Regions from separate parts of the Homo sapiens genome. Here region 2 is linked to region 1. Evidence: promoter capture Hi-C in human tissues and cell types (Jung and others, 2019). All regions are on one chromosome and are shown on one strand. The core of a region is centred on a gene start or on the middle of the fragment in contact, and the rest is flanking DNA. Distances in the headings are between cores, read along the strand shown. Region 1 holds the start of PEX6 (peroxisomal biogenesis factor 6). Region 2 overlaps UBR2 (ubiquitin protein ligase E3 component n-recognin 2).

Region 1 (4,162 bases), core at 941-3,440:
GAAGTTCTAAATTCGTGGCTGTGAGATCATGAAAGGCTTTGTGATAAAGGTGTCATCTTTAGATGGCTCTTGAGGGAAAGGAGGGTAGGATTTTAACAGATGAGGCTAGAATAATAGGAAACAATTTGAAGTCAAGGATAAGAATGAGCAAAAGCACAGAGACATCATCCTCCATATTATAAAGCACAATACTGAATACATTGTAGCAATTCAATAAACTAATTAGATTGAGTAGATTAACATACACATCTGAAACCTCACTTTTTTTTTTTTTTTTTTTTACACAGAATTTCGCTCTGTCGTCCAGGCTGGAGTGCAGTGGTGTGATCTGGGCTCACTGCAACCTCCACCTCCCAGGTTCAAACAATTCTCCTGCCTCAGCCTCCCAAGTAGCTGGGATTACAGGCATGCACCACCACACCCAAACTTCACCTTTCACCTGAATGGATGAAAGCCTTTTGTATGCCCCACTACATTATGGAGGCTTATGATATTTTGATTACAGAATATGGATCAATAGGCCGGGTGAGGTGGCTCACGCCTGTAATCCCAACACTTTGGGTGGATCACCTGAGGTCAGGAGTTCGAGACCAGCCTGACCAATACGGTGAAACCCCGTCTCTACTAAAAATTACAAAAATTAGCCGGGCGTCGTGGCGCGAGCCAGTAGTAGGAGGCTGAGACAGGAGAATCGCTTGAACCTGGGAGGCGGAGGTTGCAGTAAGCCGAGATCGCATCACCACATTCCAGCCTGGGTGACAGAGCAAGACCCCATCTCAAAAAAAAAAAAAAAAAAAAAAAAAGGAAAGAAAGAAAAAGAAAATAGATAAATGAGGCTAAGAAACATTATGCTTTTTTTTTTTTTTTTTTGAGACAGAGTTTCACTCTTATCGCCCAGGCTGGAGTCCAATGGCGCGATCTTGGCTCACCGCAACCTCCGCCTCCCAGGTTCAAGCGATTCTCCTGCTTCAGCCTCCCAAGTAGCTGGGATTAGAGGCATGCACCACCACGCCCGGCTAATTTTACATTTTTTTAGTAGAGACGGGGTTTCTCCATGTTGGTCAGGCTGGTCTCGAACTCCCGACCCCAAGTGATCCGCTCGCCTCGGCCTCCCAAAGTGCTGGGATTACAGGCGTGAGTCACCGCGCCCGGCTAGAAACATTATGTTCAAAGTCCGGGATGATATGGGGCACGAGTCCTAAATCTTCCAATTTACCTAAGACAGAGAAGAGGGTATAAGAAAGAGGAAGCACTCCTGACCCCAGTCCTTTATCCTACCTGAATTCTGAGCTCTCCCATTTCCAGGGGGTCACAGCCAAGATTAAAAGCCAAAGTGGCAGGGACAAGCGCCAGTCCGTCAGCGAGGGGCTCTCCCAGCGGTCCAGAGCCGGGTCCCAGTCTATCAGAGAGGTCCCAGCGAGGTTCTAGGACCTGCACCCTAGCCAAGTGCGGCTGTGAAGTGTTCGATGACTCTCTGGCCTGGGCCACCCACACCCATTCGCCCTGGAAGAGGCCAAGGCCACGGAGACAGCTCCGGCTCACCCCTAGTGAATCTCCAGTCCCTCCCAGAACTCCCTGGAGTCGCCGCACTGTGCCAGAAACCGCAAAGGAGGACACCACGGGCGGGGGTGGGGGCCGACTGCTGTCCCCAGACTCTGGACACAGTCTGGCCCGCCCGCGGAGCTCAGTCACAGCCAGCCGAGTCCCTGGGCCCAGCAGCCCTTGCAACGCCGGCCGCGTCTCCAGCACCCGCGGTCCGGGCACTGGGAGGGTCTCTCCGCGCCTCACCAGCAGCGGCCCGACTCGCGGTCCGAGCCCAGGCCCCAGCGAGGTGCCAAGCAGTGCCCAACCTAGCGCCGGGGGCCGCCGCACCGCCCGCGCCCGCACCCAGGCCCCGGAGCCCAGTGCCAGGAGCCGCAGCAGCGCGCGGCTAACCAGTAGCTGCGGCGGCCCGGGACCCTGCTCTTCGGTGCCCGCGTCCGGCCCCTCCAGGGCTGCCACCAGCAGCGCCGGCCCTGCCGGGCTCTCCCCTGCAGGCCTCAGGGCCAGCACCAGGCCCAGCTCCGCCGCCGGCCACGGGCCCCCGGGTGGCAGCAGCACTGCCAACGGGGGTGTCTCGGTCGGAAAGGGCTCCAGGACCCGCAAGACAGCCAGCGCCATGGTGACAGGACACCAACGAGGAGGGTGAAGGAGCGCAGCTTCCGGAGCCAGAGAGCCAGACGACTAGTGTGCGCGAGGGCCGCTTCCGCTTCCGTCAGGGGAGGCCAGAGGAAAAGGGGAGGGGGGTCGGGTGCCGCGAACTTGCTCTGAGGGGGTTAGCTGCGCCTCGGATTGATCTGCGTCGTGCCTCGATAGGCAGTAACCTTCATCGCTGCGGTTGCGTAGCGTTTACCCATGCGCCATTTGAACTTGTGCTTAAGGGATTTATCTTTGCCTTCTACGGAAGTAATGTTCTCTTAACTATTTTTCCCCGTGGCATGAACGTAACAGTTTATTGACTGATAAATGAACAGTCAGCATGCTCGGGATGACTGGGCCCAGTACTGGGAGCTCTAGGTGAAATGTTTCGGAAGGAGTCCGCTCCTCTGCGGAGCTCCTGCAGCTTCCCCTGTGGAACTGTGAGCACTGAGGTTTGAGGGTTGCAGGAAAGGTTGCAGGAGGGAGTAGCAGGATTAGAAAACTGTCTCACACTTGCTTATAGGTATATAGTGGCTGCTGAGTGAATTACTAGATGTGATTCATACAGCCCTGGAGTGCTTGGTGCCACCACACATGTTCCAGCACATCTGGCACAAAACCCATGTTCCAGGACTTCTTGCCCTGTTCATTGTTCTGTTTGTTTTACTCCCACCAAACTTAAGTTGAAGACAAAACAGCTTTTCTTTCACCCCCCCCCCCCAAATCCTTGCAGATCGGAAACCCATTCACTTTCTATCCTAGAGCGGGGCAGGCAGCAGAGCAGGCAGAAGGAAAGGAGTTCAAGGCTTCTGTCAGCATAACACCAACAGTCGACTTCCTGCGTGTGCTGTTATTTAGATTCCATCCTTCTCTTCACCTCCACTGTTCTGTACAAGACACTCAGCTAGTGGTAGGCCACATTTCCTTTTTTATGGCAACAGGGTCCTACTCTGTCACCCAGGTTGGAGTACAGTGGCACGATCCCCATTCATTGCAGCTTCTACCGTCCCAGGCTCAAGTGATCTCCCACCTCAGCCTCCCGAGTAACTGTAGCCGGGACCACAGGCACACGCCACCATACCCAGCCAATTTTTTTTTTGAGACGGAGTTTCGGTCTTGTTGCCCAGGCCAGAGTGCAATGGCACGATCTCAGCTCACTGCAATCTCCGCTTCCCAGGTTCAAAGAATCTCCTGCCCCAGCCTCCCAAGTAGCTGAGATTACAGGTGTGTGCCACCACACCCAGCTAATGTTGTATTTTCAGTAGAGACGGGGTTTCACCCTGTTGGTCAGGCTGGTCTCGAACTCCTGGCTTCAAGTGAGCCACCTGCTTACGCCTCCCAAAGTGCTGGGATTACAGGCATGAGCCACTGCGCCTGGACTAATTTTTTATTTTTTGTAGAGACAGAGTTTCTCTGTGTTGCCTAGGCTGGTCTCAAACTCCTGGTCTGAAGAGATCCTCAGGCCTCAGCCTCCCAAAGTGCTGGGACTACAGGCATAAGCCATCATGTCCCACTGCATTTCCAATTATTAACAATTATTTTCACTTACAATAAATGAATTGGATGGTGCCAATCTCCATTTTCTAGACCTTACATTCTCTTTCAGCTACTGCTCAGCTTTCTCCATCTCTCCTTTCTTCTTGAGGCAGTCTTCTATTTTGTACATTATACATTCCTGAAAATTTGAAAGACAAATATATGAAAACTATTAGATTTGCATATTATAAGGGGCTGGGCGCAGTGGCTCATGGCTGTAATCCCAGCACTTTGGGAGGCCAAGTGGGTGGACTGCTTGAGGCCAGGAGTTTGAGACCAGCCTGGCCAACATGGTGAAACCCCGTCTCTACTAAAAATACAAAAATTAGCTGGGTATGGTGGTGTGTGCCTGTAGTCCCAGCTACTCGGGAGGCTGAGGCAGGAGAATGGCGTGAAGCCGGGAGACAGAGCTTGCAGTGAGCCGAGACTGCGCCACTGCACTCCAGCC
Region 2 (4,418 bases), core at 1,898-4,397, 290 kb before region 1:
ATGTGCTTATTACATTAAAATCTGGGGGACAAAGATTTAAAACATAAAGAACAATATAACAATATTTGAGGCTAAGTTACTTCTACTCTGGTAGCTTTAGTATATTGTAAGCTAACAATTCCCCCAAGCACTATTAAAGAACTTCTTTCAGACCATCTCTTTTGTCTAAAGGAGGTATAAGTTTTAACCGCCATAGATATGCCTGTCCAGCCTTAAGTAGCAGATGTTAAAGGCCTAGAAACCCAAGCAAGGTAAGTAGATGAGCTGCCCCAGGCGCTGGACTGCGAGGCTATGCCCATATGCCACCCAGTGCTGGTGCTTCCCACTGTTCTCAGCGTGGGCTGTTAGGAGGAGGAGAGTCTGATTAGTGAGTGAGAGGATGGCTGTGCTCAGAAACAGGAGCAGAGGTGCCTGGCTCAGGGCACTGGTCCCAGGCAGGAACCCACCAAAGCTTGCACTTGTGTTTAAATTAGACCTGGAAGTTACTCACATTTGATTGCTTCACTGAGACTGTGGCTGAAAGATTGCATCTGAGGAATGTTTTTCTTTTCTTTTCTTTTCTTTTTTCTTTGCACTCTTAGTAAAATCTGTGAGGAATATTTTTACTCCTATAATTCTTCTTTTGTGTTCTCCTCTGCCCTCTTCCCTTTTTACACGTTACCAACAAAATGGGCAATGAATTGGTAGTTTTAGCCTCTCAACCCAGACCCTCCTTATCCCCCGCAACCTCTATTCCCTCACCTCACTCTGGGTAAGTCTGGTTTGTGTACCTTTCCTTCCTCATTTCAGCACTTATTCCCTTTTACCTGCTCTTGGCAAAGGGTCAGAGCTGATGTTTTTGTTAATAGCCACAGTCACCTGCCAGACAGAAATGTTGCAGGGAGTCTAAAACCAATAACTTGTAACCTTGCCTAAATCAGGAAGGGTTGGGTTATAATAGAGGAATAAACAGAACACATTCTGAGTGACATGTGTCTTCTCTTTCTAGACGGGGAAATCCTTTACATTTATGCAAAGAGCGATTCAAGAAGATTCAGAAGCTCTGGCACCAACACAGTGTCACAGAGGAAATTGGACATGCACAGGAAGCCAATCAGACACTGGTTGGCATTGACTGGCAACATTTATAATTATTGCACCACCAAAAAACACAAACTTGGATTTTTTTAACCCAGTTGGCTTTTTAAGAAAGAAAGAAGTTCTGCTGAATTTGGAAATAAATTCTTTATTTAAACTTTCCTTCCCAGTTTTATAGTTTCTGGTTCTGAGGACTGATGAAAATCATCTTCCATCAGCAGATTTTCTTGCACTGTTTGCTGTGCCCCTCAAATATAATGTCTTGGGTTTTAAGATCGAGCAAGGAGCTTCTCTTCCTAGATTGGATCCCAGCCCCTTTGTGGGGGTCTGACTGCATAGTCCCAGCCATTATGTGATATTTCACGTTATTGATGATAGTGAACCGTGGGTCCGAAGCTGACTCAACGGAGGCAGGGAACAAAGTCTCTGTGGTCTGTTGGGTCATACTTCCTGGTTCCACTGAGTGGCCCAACACTGGGACTGGGTTGGTGTCCCCTCTGCTGACAGGACCCTACTCCTAGGAGCAAAGTGGTTGATTTTGAAGGCAGTGTTCCCTTCTCTCCATTGACTATGAGAGAGTTGGGGGACACACATGCAGAAGAAGCCCGTGGGGAGAAGGTGGATTCCTGGTGTGCTGGCTGGTTTTTCAGGGCTGTTAGAGGTTTTTTTTTTTTCTTTTTTTTTTTATGGCAAGACTTTTGGCTTTGAGAAAACTCACTTAGAGGGCTTTCCAAAAACTTAGGATGGTCTAAAAAATTAGGATATTCTTTTAGAATTAGGAAGAAAAATTAGGATATTCTAAAAGAATATGGATTAAAAATTTAGGATATTCTTTTAGATATCCTAATATCTAGATGAGAGGCCTTCCTTCATAAGATCTGGTTGTTTGGGCTGTGGTTGGCATAAGTGATATTTATTTTGGCCTCTGTCACATCCAGTTTCTTGAGCTTTTAAGGTAAGCTTCTTTTGGCTTTTTTTCAGATGTTCACCAAGCTTAAGTTTAAAATAATAGGTATTCTAAAAGAGTATCCTAATTTTCTTATCTGTATTCTTTTAGAATACCCTAATGTTTCAGACAGTGATATTCTCTTGTTATTTCTAAGGCTAAATTGGCAGAGTATATCATCTAAAGCCAAACACTGAAGAAGGTGAGAACCCACTCCCACCCAGCCAGCATTTCCTGGAACAGACAAGCTGCTGCTTCCTTGCTGGCTCACTTAGTGCATTCCTGGGATGGTCTGGCACCCAGGCTTTTTATTCTTTTTGATCATTGTTCTTACTGAGGTGCCTTCCTAGAACAAGAGCCACTTACAAAATAGCTTATAATTATTATGTACCACACAACTACTATTGTTTGATGTATGACTGCTGAGAGCTTGAATACATGCAGAGAGTGACTGAAGACTTAGTAGAGGAATAAATTCTGAGCCTGTCTAAGGTGGGGCTAAGGAACAGATGAGTAATAAGAGGCTCTTGGATTTTTTTAACCAATGCAACTGACCCTTTCAATCAGTTTTCTTTGAATTACATCTACAAGTTTTGTTCCACTCAGCTACCAGTCAACTAGGCATGCTCCACAGTATCACAGGAAGAAGGTCAGAAATCTGGAACTGAAGCTAAAAGAAGTGAGGATGTAGAAGCCACATTCCTCTCCAAGGTAGTGTGTGAAAGAACCGCCCCCTCTTGACAGGAGGATGACCGTCGCCATTCTTGCGTGGGACTGACTCACCCAGCTGAGAGGAGGACCAATAGAAAGAAAATTCACATTTGAGTCCACCTCTCTCCCCCTTTTTCTGGCCTTCATTCATAAGATCTGGTTGTTTGGGCTGTAGGTGGCATAATTCATGTTTATTTTGGCCTCTGTCACATCCAGTTTCTTTAGCTTTTAAGGTAAGCTTCTTTTGGCTTTTTTTCATATGTTCACCAAGCTAAAATTTAAAATAATAAGACCAGGTTTCTCTCTGTACAAGTGGATTATAAACATTTTCACCAAATCATAACAATACTCCAGCTTTCCGGTCCGACTTCCTAGGAGCCTGGAGTTAGCAAAGGTTGTCTCTGGATTTCATTCTCTGAGAATATCACAGAGCCTGGGAGAAGATGAATTTACATGAAATTGCAACATACACACCTTTTTATTTTCTGGTGTTAAGCTAGTTGTCTTTCCTACCTTACAAATCATGTTAGTTTTATGATTTGTTCCGCATGTTTTATGTTTATTGTAGAAATGTTTATATAACATACGCTTTCCATATCAGGGAAAATCATATCTGTTTAATAAATTGGCTATAACTTTAATATCTGTGGACAACTTGTAAAATTTGGAATGTATCATATGTAAAAAGTTTAAAGATATCCAAATAAATGCTTTAGGTGTTGGCATTACTTTTGGTTAGCATATATCTTTCTGTTTCATTTTACACATTTACCTGCCACAGCAAGGTGCCCGTGTCACCTTGCTACAAATATAGTGGGATATCTGTATTAGCTTTAAATTTAAGAGGGTTATATTATTATGGCCACTAGCCAAACTATCTTGACCTTCTCAGAGAAAGTGTGATCATCATTTCAGCTGATTAAGTTTCATATTCATTAGCCATGACAGCGTGTGACCTTTGTGGACCATTTTGGAACTCAAATCACTGGGAAACAGGGCACTCCAAGACCTGTGTCTGGGTTTAAACTCTTGTTCATCCTTACCTGGTGATCTCAAGGTCCTTGTCCTTACACACTCCCCTAGTGTGCTGGCTGGTTTTTCAGGGCTGTTGGAGGTTTTTTTTTTCTTTTTTTTATGACCACTTCCTGCTTTTGAGAGAGAGACATAGAAAGGCAGCTACACTGTCTTCCTAGGGGAGTCATTGCCCATGAGAATTCTGTTTTTTTTGAAATCCTCTTGAGAGCATCAAACTAAAACAGCAAGGTTTCCATTGCACTCACCCTGCCTCCTGGTCAGTAACACTGCTCCCAGCCTACTGCCTTCACCACTCTTGTCTTTAGTTCCAGGAACTCATGAAGCCCCTTCTGACATGCTCCTCCCTGTCTTCCTACTCTTGATTTTGGTGTGGTGGTGGTTTGGTTTGGTTTTTTTAAAGAGACAGGGTCTTGCTTTGTCCCACAGGCTGGAGTGCAGTGGCACAGCCTTGGTTCACTGCAGCCTCAACCTTCTGGGCTCGAGCAATCCTCCCACCTCAGCCTCCCAGTAGCTGGTACTATAGAGGCACATGCCACCACACCTGGCTAATTTTTGTATTTTTTTTGTAGATACAGCCGCGCTATGTTGCCCAGGCTGGTCTTGAACCCTTGGGCTCAAATGATTCTCCCGCCTCAGCCTCCCAAATGCT

The links. The method cuts DNA at HindIII sites, captures the fragments that hold promoters and counts their contacts. A contact is called where the count stands out against the background at its distance.
Region 2: a contact is called between a fragment that was not itself captured here and the fragment with the promoter of PEX6 in region 1, in 1 of the 25 tissues and cell types used here (IMR-90 fibroblasts).

What each region holds. Positions count from the first base shown.
Region 1 is chr6:42,976,991-42,981,152 of GRCh38, forward strand. It overlaps PEX6 (peroxisomal biogenesis factor 6), which reads right to left and starts at 2,191. Exons shown (of 17, transcript NM_000287.4): 1 at 1,279-2,191. The coding sequence starts at 2,160. LOC124900215 (a long non-coding RNA gene) reads right to left here. Exons shown (of 2, transcript XR_007059580.1): 2 at 3,552-3,853. RefSeq lists enhancers at 1,451-2,392, 2,553-2,602 and silencers at 1,763-2,142, 2,797-2,993. The HindIII fragment of the contact is 12,677 bases long and covers 1-4,162 here.
Region 2 is chr6:42,690,044-42,694,461 of GRCh38, forward strand. It overlaps UBR2 (ubiquitin protein ligase E3 component n-recognin 2), which reads left to right. Exons shown (of 47, transcript NM_001363705.2): 47 at 989-3,462. The coding sequence ends at 1,130. Among named protein-coding and RNA genes, the nearest start is that of PRPH2, 30 kb to the right of the region's middle. The HindIII fragment of the contact is 3,806 bases long and covers 1,245-4,418 here.